Linked DNA regions of Homo sapiens: regions 2 and 3 are each linked to region 1. The links are contacts of gene promoters, found by promoter capture Hi-C in blood cells and fetal thymus (Javierre and others, 2016). All regions are on one chromosome and are shown on one strand. Each heading gives the region's core, a stretch centred on a gene start or on the middle of the fragment in contact. The rest is flanking DNA. Distances are from core to core; before and after follow the strand shown.

Region 1 (3,084 bases), core at 357-2,856:
ATTTAGGCCATCAGAGGACAAAAAAGGGGAATAATATGGAGAAAAGGCTTGGTAGAAGTGGCATGCCTTCAGCAGGGACCCACGAAATGGGTTCAACTGAGTGTGTACAAAGTTTGGAGACTAGGAAGGGATGAAGAAGGGCATTCCACACAAGAACAACACAAATGAAGATTTGGAGCCTGGCACAGTGGCCCACGCCTGTAATCCCAGCACTTCGGGAGGCCAAAGCAGGAGGACTGCTTGAGCTCAGGAGTTTGAGACCAGCCTGGGCAACATAGCAAGACCCCCATCTCTACTAAAAATTTAAAAATTTGCCAGGCATGGTGGTGCTTGCCTGTAGTCCTCGCTACTGGCAAGACTGAGACAGGAGGCTCTCTTGAGCTGTGATTGCACCACTGCACTCCAGTCTGGACAACAGAGAGAAACTCTGTCTCTAAAACAAACAAAAAGACTTGGAATCAGGAATAAATATGGTTGAAACTATACTATCTGGACTGAAGTGGTGGTTGCACTTAGTGGTAATGAGAAATGAAGTTAGTTGGATGAGTTAGGGTCAGAGTATGCAAGGCTTTAGAAATAGGAAACAGGAGAGAAACCATTGAAAGTTTCTGAACAGAACTTGTGATGATGAAATCAGAATTCAAGGGGAGAAAAAGGAGCATAGTGGTGGCATCCATGATGGATTTGGAGAAGAAAATACTAAAGGTGAATGGAAAGGGTGGACCAGGGGCAAACAGGTTATTAAAACAGTCCCATCATGAAGTGTTGAAATGCTGGATGTAAACACACCTACCACAGTATCAGTACAGACTAAGGGCTTGGATAAATGTTAGTCAAATCCAAGTACTAAAATTCTTCTTGGTTCGCGAAAATTTCAGAAGTGGCTCAAAAATCTGTAATGCATTAAGAATATTATTTGCTTCACAATATTTCATTTACTTAAGATTTTATAAGAATCAGCTGCTTATAAAATTGTTACTTTGTGGTGCACCAAAGCACCTTGTTCTCTCCCTCACCCAGATATGTTTCATGCTCTTTGTACTTTCCACCCCTTAACAGATTTGGAGGGAAGATTCAAGCCGTGGATTTTTAAATTTAAAGCAATGCTGTCACAAATTGAGAACTGACAACATGTCATTACACATTTAATTGCCACCGAATCCCAGAGTTTAAAAATTGTAAGGACCTAAGAGATAGGACCTCTCGTTGTACAGATGCGGAAACTGAGGCTGAGAGAGGGTAAGTGAACAGTCCCAGGTCACAGAGCTGCTAATGGGCAAGGTGGGACTAGAATCCAGGCTTGACTCCTCTACGCTGAGCCAAGGGTTCGAAGCGATTGGGATAAGGGAAGCCTGAGGCAGGGAACGAGAGTCAGGAAAGCAGCTCTTCCCAACCCTAGGAGGCCGGGGGACCTCGTCACCGCGGAAGGAGCGGAGCCAGGCCGACCTAAAAAGCCGCAAGTCCAGGTACCCTTACCCTGATGGCCGCGGCGACACACTCGGCCACCTTCCTGATCTCGCGATACTAGCCGGTACTCACTTTTCCGGCTTCCCCTAGGCCCCGCCCCCCCACCTCAGCCCTTCTGTCGTCATTTCCTGTGGGTCTGTAGGTTAAGGGAGAAGATGGCGGCGCTAGGGGAACCCGTGCGGCTGGAGAGAGGTGAGTGCAGCCGAGGCTCGGCGGAGGTGGGCGGAAGGGTTGGGGGAGTGCTGTGTCGCTGGAGGGGAGGAGGAGTGACCCAGGCTCTGAGATCCGGGCCACGCTGTCCCTTGTGCCGGCGCCAGAGGCCGCCGTTGTCTCTGTGCCTGGCTCTAGGAAGGGCGCTTACGGTATTTTGTCTGTTAACCGTAAGCCCTCCTCTGTTCACACGGACTGTTCCAAGGCACAGCACAACTAAACACAACCTGCCCGCTTCGCAGACACACGCCGCACACGCGCTCCCTTGGTGAGCACAGCAGAAGCAGCATTCGGAGACCCGTACACCCGAAAAGCAAACGTCACACACCCGGTTCGCACAGACTACACTCATTGCCTGTACAGCACGAGAACGGACACACGGTACAATTCAACAGAACCTCCTTTCCCCGCTGTTTGCACACAAACTCCTTCATTACTTTCTCCACAACCTCGCTTGTATTCGGGTTGGGGTATTTGCTAGCTTTTGTGCCCCTCCTAGAAATGGAGAGGTTGCTTTAAAAACAATCCTACTGACTTGGTCTTGGGAAGGAGGTTACGTAAGTAAGCCGAATAGTGGTAGATGCTAAAACACTTGCAGGTGCAGTGTTTTTCATTTCTTACAAACCCTACAATTGCAAACTGGTTGGCTGATTGCTTCCTAGAGCAGACTGTCAAGGAAAATAAAACCACCTCTGCTGAGTAATTAGAGATAGAGAAGCCTACGAAAATAACTGGCTATGCGCCTACCATGATTTCCAGCATTCCAGCGTTTCCAGTCCTTTTACAGATTTCCAGCATTCCACTCTGTCCCTAAGTCCTTTATTTCAAACAATTTCAAGCATGCTTTTCATACACCAGCATTAGAAATCATTGATAGGAATTGAGAAGTACAAATAAACATTTTGAGTACTGGTGGTAAAAAAAAATGTATATGTAGGATGGAGACTGAAATTATATTGCACATATTAACATTTGCAATTAGTCTAAATATTACTATTGTTCCCTAAGAAAACACATTTTTAGAATTACTGTACTTAGAAAAACCTCTTTCCTAATGCCTTCCCACAAACAAATGTGCACTTAATGTTGCTGATTTGCTCTTTACCGTGTTCACCATTTGGAAGCCTCACTGTAAATGAGATTGTTTCCGTTAAGCCTATTAAAGCATCATTTTAGAGGACTAGCTACTCTGGGAAGACTTGCCGAGTTAGGCCTAAGTCTCTGACATCTTCCTCTTGAGCACAGTGGCACTGTGTTTTATAGATGGGAGCAAATCTGTTTGGTGTTAACAGGAGTAAGTTTTTTCTTTGAAAGCTAGTTAAGATTCTAACGTATTGGTCTTTTGTGTTTTTGTTGTTGCTGTTTGGAGACGTAGTCTTGCTCTGTCGCCCAGGCTGGAGTGCAGTG
Region 2 (3,084 bases), core at 267-2,766, 310 kb after region 1:
GTTCTGGTATCTGTAACTTTGTATTCCCTTATTTGAGATCATACAGAAGGCAACTCAAGAGCCATAAAATTCCGCCCTCTGACATGACACGTGGCCAGAGTGCATCCAAAACCTGGAACCTCATTCACTTTTGATCTTTACTCCTGGACCCTGAAGAAGATGTAAGATAACAGATATGGGAGTGCTCTGGAGGATAAAAAAAAATTCTTTACAATTATCACGTCTTTTAAAAAATGGTTTTTTGTTGTTTGGTTGTTGTTGTTGTTGTTTTTTAGATTAGTTTAACATAATGCATTGAGACACACACATGACTCAGTGAAACGGTGATCTATTTCCAGCACAGAAATCTCCTGGTAACATACCCCATCTCTCTCACATTGTCACCAATACAGAATGAATTCCAAGTGGTATTTGTTGCACTAATCTTGCTGTGCAGATGACAAGCAGTTTTTCTTAAATATCTGTTTCCAGTTCTTCCAGAGATATAGACCATACTTGTTTTGTTTCACGTGTGTGCGTTCCACATCCCCATCCCCAGCCCCAGTAGCTAAAATCAAGTATACTCATGATTACTTTGGTAAAAATAATGTTTACTAATTGTTCTTACAATATCTTACATGTTGACCAGAAGTTTTATTGACTCTTATTTAAAAATAAATAATAATATAAATAGGAATGACATTATCTTTCTGTTCAAGAATTTCTGATAGGGCCAACATTGTGTCTGGTCAGTGGCCTATAATCTGCTAGCATAAATCTCTCATTTTGTAGAAATGGAAGGGTCATTTTTTGCACTGTTGTTTTATGACATTTATTTACGCAGATACATAGCATAAGTTTATTATGAAAATTAAAAAAATATCCAGGTGATTTTCTTTTCTGGGCTCCTGCTTTAGACATTTGAACCTCTCAACCATCACTCCTTTAAACAGTTCAGGCCAGGCATGGTGGCTCACACCTGTAACCAACCCCAGCACTTTGGGAGGCTGAGGCAGACAGATCACCTGAGGTCAGGAGTTCGAGACCAGCCTGGCCAAAATGGCGAAACCTCGTCTTTACAAAAACAAAAATTAGCTAGGTGCGGTGGTGTGTGCCTGTAATCCCAGCTACTGGGGAGGCTGAGGTAGGAGAATTGCTTGAGCCCAGGAGGTGGAGGTTGCAGGGAGCTGAGATGGTGCCACAGCACTCCAGCCTGAGAGACAGAGCAAGACCCTGTCTCAAAACAAAACAAAACAAAATATCCAAAAGTTCAATAAATTTTCCTGAAGAGATCTACCCCTCCCCCACATTTTAATCCCTCATATTGTGAAGAAGTTATTTTCTGTGTACAGCTGGAAACTCCCCAACTTTCTTCAAATCCTGCTGGCTTTGGGTAGGCCCCTGATGTCCTATTTGAGGCTAACCTAGTAAGGGGAAAGACCGTTAGATTATAAGAGGTCATTGGCTTAGGCTCTGATAGTGGGATGCTAGGTCTCAGCTGAGATGAAGGGAATTGATGGTCCTGTCCTGGATGGGATTACTGATGGAGGACCCAAGTTGCCCAGAGCTGACCTTTTGACCTTCAAAACTAATGTAACATGGAAAACCCCTCCCAGAGCCATCCTTCTTCATGGCAGTGTCAGGAGCCTTCTGTCTGAATATCTGACCTGTGTGGAGCGTTATATATATAACAGAGACAGGGCACCTCTGAGAAAGGTGATGTTTACCATGAGCAGAAAGAAGACCGATGGAAAGTCCCAGCTTATCTAAAACCCAAGGACCAGTCCTCGAGATAACAGCACACTGTTTTTAAAGCATTTACACCCAGAAAGAGGAATTTAGCAAGGTGCCACAGCATGGCCTTTGTGGCATTAATTGGGTCTTGTTACCATTGCCCAACCGTGAAGGTCTGTTTTGGAGAGTACCACAAGGTGGTTGGGAAAAGGAAATTTATATAGTACTTATGAGTCTAAAATTTTAGCAATTGGTAATAACAAAGTAAGATAATCTTGGTTGTGGAGAAAGTGAGATTAAATATGTGGAGGGAGATTTCTTTATGAATATTCCCTCCTCATTTCTTAATAACAACTATCAATGTGAGGGCCTGCAACTCTCAGTGCTTTGCAAAGACTTGCAACAACCTTGATTGTACCATCTCCTTTTACAGATGAGAAAACTGAGGGTCAGAGAATTTAAATAACTTGCCTGTGGCATAGAACTGCATACACAAATACACATGCATACGGGATGGAAAAATTGCACGAATAAGCCACTGAGAATCTCCATACTCCACTGTTAGGACCTAGAGGCCAATTAGTGGACAGACAAGTAAATAGCATAGGTTTTCTAAAAAACAATAATGAACAAGTCAATCTCAGTGAATTTTGTGAAAACAGTCAAGACTCAATCCCATACCTTTTTCATCTTCACTTATTGCCCTGAACAGTAGCAACTGAATGTTGTTACTGGTGAAAATGGTGCCAAGGCCCCATCAGATTTTCAGGTTACAAAGAACATTACTGTCATGTTTGCTGACTTTGACTTCCAGAGCGCTACGCTGGATTCACACTTTCTGGAAAGAGCTTCAACGGAAAATAGTAGAATAATGAACCTTGTCTTGCTTATTCCTCGGTTAATGACAGCATTCTAATTCATTAAGGTTCCTCTGTATTTATTTGGTACATTTCAAGGAACAGAATGGACAGGGTGGCTGGAGTGGAGTGAAAGGAAGGTGGGTGGCAGATGAGGCTGCAGAGGTGGCAGAACCAGCTCACAGTGTGATTTGTGGGCCCTGCCAAGAATCTGGGATTTTATTACAGTGCAAAGGGAAGCCACTAAGGAATTTGAAGCCAGAGAGTGACATGATCTGATGTAAAATTTAAAAAGATCATCCTGGCTGCTTTGTGTACTTAATGTTTGTGTAGTGAATGCATTGAAAGGGGACAAGAAAGGCCAGGACAGTTTGGACTTGGGTGGTGGCAATAAAGGTGGAGAAAAGTTGATGGATAGATTTGAGATATATTGGAAATAAGAATTACAGGATTTGGTGATGGATTGAATGTGGGAAGGCAAGAAAGAAGAAAGAGTCAAGGATGATTCATGGTT
Region 3 (3,084 bases), core at 288-2,787, 300 kb after region 1:
TCAGAGGAGGTTTTAGCCTTGTTGAGGATAAGGTCTCAGCCCCATCCCAGTGATGAACTGGAAATGGACAGGAAACATAAGGACACTGGATTCCATACACTTTTCCTGGGTACCATTTCTGTGCTGGACCCAGGGGTGTTGGTTGTTCAACCAGGAAGCCAGCTGGCTAGTTGGCTGTGGTCTCAGCTGAGAGGAACTTGAAGACATGACGAGAACTTCCTATCAAGGAAGTGGGGAGCCAGGAGAGTCAGCAGACAAACCCATGCCAGAGTCTATGAGGGCTGCTTGGACTCATACTCCAGAGAGTCCAGAGGCAAAGTCCAGTAAGGTCGGGAGAGATGGGGATTACACATAAAATCTTAAAAGCTGGATTGCATCTGGAAAAGGCCACAGTGCAAGTTCTGGATACGTCCAGGTAAATAGGTACAATCTGGATTTAAGGAAAAGAGCGTACATTGTGTGTGCGAGTGCCAGGTGATTTCAAATTAGGTGTCATATTAGGCATTGAAAGATAGCCAGATAAATCCTAGCATTCCCTGGCAACACCACAAGGGGGCAGACATTCAGGTGGGAGGGTTATGTTATAACAGGAAGAAACATTGATTTTGGTTCTTAGTCCCTTCTTAGCTCGTAATAATAGCAGTTGCATGTATTGAACACTTACTATGGGTCACAGACTGTGAGCATGCAATCTCCTTTAATCTCCGCAGCAAACGTATAATATTAAGACCTATTTTTCCATCTTTTTTTTTTCTTTCTTTGAGACAAGGTCTCACTCTGTTGAACAGGCTGAATGCAGTAGTGCGATCATAGCTCACTATAGCCTCGAACTCCTAGGCTCAAGTGATCCTCTTGCCTCAGCCTCCTCAGTATCTGGGACTACAGGAACATGCCAACACATCTGACTAACTTTTAGTTTTTTCAGTAGAGATGAGGTTTCACTACGTTACCTGTGCTGATCTGAAACTCCTGGGCTTAAGTGATCCCCTGCCTGGGCTTCCCAAAGTGTTGGGATTATAGGTTTGAGCCACTGTGGCCAGCCAGATTCTCTTTTATTGGACAGGAAACTATAAGCCTTGGTCCATATCCACAAGGTATTGATGTTGCCGTGACCACAGAATGATAGAATATCAGAAACATCCCTCTGATCAGTCCTGTCCTCATCTTCTCTACCAAGTCTAGGCCAAGTCTGGGGGCCTGAAGGCCAGTTTTGGGATTTGCTCCGTTGTAGAAGGCTGTAGAAGGTGGCCCATCTACTCACTCACTCGCTATATGTTAGTTGAGGTGCCCACTATGTGTCAGAGAATGTTCTTGACATAGGTGACGAGATAGACCCTGCTCTTACAGACCTTGCAGTCACAGGAGTGACCAAATTACCAGTGTGATAAACTCTTTTGTTAAGGAAGGTAGCAGGTGTTATAGGGACTCATAAACGGAGCACCACTTAAATAAATAAGAGGAGACTTCCTGAAAGAAGTAACAACTAAACTACATACACGGAGTCAAGCTCTGCATGAAAGGTGCCATCAAGGCTTAACATTCAAAGGGCATGGTCATATTCACTGTATACACTGGCATGGAGCAGAAATTTAAAACAAAAATGAAAAAGTATAATTAAAAACCTAGGCTTAAAATTAAAAAAAAAAATATATATATATATAAAAAACAGAACCCTTGTCTGCCATCTCTCTCACCCTCAGCACTGTGCAAACCCATCTGGGTACTGTTCAGTTCTTTGAATGCTGCTTGACACGGACAAACAAGAGGGCATTAAAAGGGGAGGTCACAGCTGGGCGCGGTGGCTCATGCCTGTAATCCCAGCACTTTGGGAGGCCAAGGCGTGTGGATCACATGAGGTCAGGAGTTCGAGACCAGCCTGACCAACATGGCAAAACCCTGTCTCTACTAAAAATACAAAAATTAGCCGGGCCTGGTGGTGGGTGCTTTTAATCCCAGCTACTTGGGAGGCTGAGGCAGGAGAATCACTTGAACCTGGGAGGTAGAGGTTGCAGTGAGCTGAGATCACGCCACTGCATTCCAGCCTGGTCGACAAGAGCAAAACTCAATCTCATTAAAAAAAAAAAAAAAAAGGAGTTCACCAAGAAGTGGAGAGATTTGAAGCATTATAATGCAAGAAATTGGTTGCATTTTGAAGGGTACACAGTGAGGTAGAGGCATAGCAAGGGGAAGCCTCACTTCTTGTCTGGGCTACAGTAGCCCTCCATCTTCCTCCTCTTTACACACACTCCAGATGAAATACCCTATATGATGACTCAGAGTCATTAATAACATGACCACTTGTGCAGCCCAAAGATTAGACAGCCAAAGCCAAGAGTCTGTTGTGTTGAAGTGGCTCTGGGTGGGAAGCATTCTCCCCAGAGACTGGGGCAGGGTATGACTTGCCAGGGGAGGGTTTGCAGAATGTTTAGACTGTGACTCATGAAGGTCTTAGATGAATAAATAGCTCTCTTTCTGCTGTGACTGTTGACAGGGCTGGTGACAGCTTACCTTTGCAGTTGCCAAGGAGAATCTCACTCTGATTTTTGACAAGTTCAATTTTCCTAACCAGCTGGGGTCTCCAGAATGGCCACCATGAATAAAGGCCTGGCCAAATATAAAGGGCAATGAAGCAATAGGTAATATTTGGAGGTATGAAATCTGAAGTGCAAACATCTCCTCCCAGCCAAGGAAGAGTCATCATTGGGAAGGGAAGATTAAAGGAAGAAAGTTTTCTGCTTTCTGGATTGGGAAAACAATATCTTGCATCTTTGTGTGGCTAGTTGGCCATTTTATTAATAGTCTTAGAGCTTCATAATCCTGGTGAGAAGAAAGATAGTCCTCTTTCTGGAAACATCTATATAATTTAAAATCTATTTGGCTATAAGTAATAAAACCCTGACGGATAGTGGCCCACACCATATCACTTTGATTATCTCACATAATAGGAAGTCTGGAGATAAGTAGTCTAAAGTGAGAACAGCAGTTCCACAGTATTATTGAGTTGACGGGCACTTTTTCATCTCTATATTTATGTAGGTCATTGATTCTTCTGCCTGTTTCTCATGGTTTCAAGATGGCTGCCGT

Evidence for each region. The method cuts DNA at HindIII sites, captures the fragments that hold promoters and counts their contacts. A CHiCAGO score of 5 or more calls a contact.
Region 2: a fragment that was not itself captured here is called in contact with the fragment with the promoter of LIN7C in region 1 in 7 of 17 cell types (naive CD8 T cells, activated CD4 T cells, naive CD4 T cells and 4 more); the score reaches 6.8 in naive CD8 T cells.
Region 3: a fragment that was not itself captured here is called in contact with the fragment with the promoter of LIN7C in region 1 in 1 of 17 cell types (erythroblasts); the score reaches 5.5 in erythroblasts.

Annotation. Positions count from the first base shown.
Region 1 is chr11:27,505,291-27,508,374 of GRCh38, reverse strand. LIN7C (lin-7 cell polarity scaffold C) reads left to right here and starts at 1,606. Exons shown (of 5, transcript NM_018362.4): 1 at 1,606-1,659. The coding sequence starts at 1,623. It overlaps BDNF-AS (BDNF antisense RNA), which reads right to left and starts at 1,523. Exons shown (of 7, transcript NR_033315.1): 1 at 1,477-1,523. RefSeq lists enhancers at 1,200-1,489, 1,560-1,689, 846-2,045. The HindIII fragment of the contact is 9,378 bases long and covers 1-3,084 here.
Region 2 is chr11:27,190,993-27,194,076 of GRCh38, reverse strand. The region is part of intron 2 of BBOX1-AS1 (BBOX1 antisense RNA 1); the gene reads left to right. Among named protein-coding and RNA genes, the nearest start is that of BBOX1-AS1, 26 kb to the left of the region's middle. The HindIII fragment of the contact is 3,277 bases long and covers 1-3,084 here.
Region 3 is chr11:27,209,045-27,212,128 of GRCh38, reverse strand. The region is part of intron 2 of BBOX1-AS1 (BBOX1 antisense RNA 1); the gene reads left to right. Among named protein-coding and RNA genes, the nearest start is that of BBOX1-AS1, 8.2 kb to the left of the region's middle. The HindIII fragment of the contact is 6,569 bases long and covers 1-3,084 here.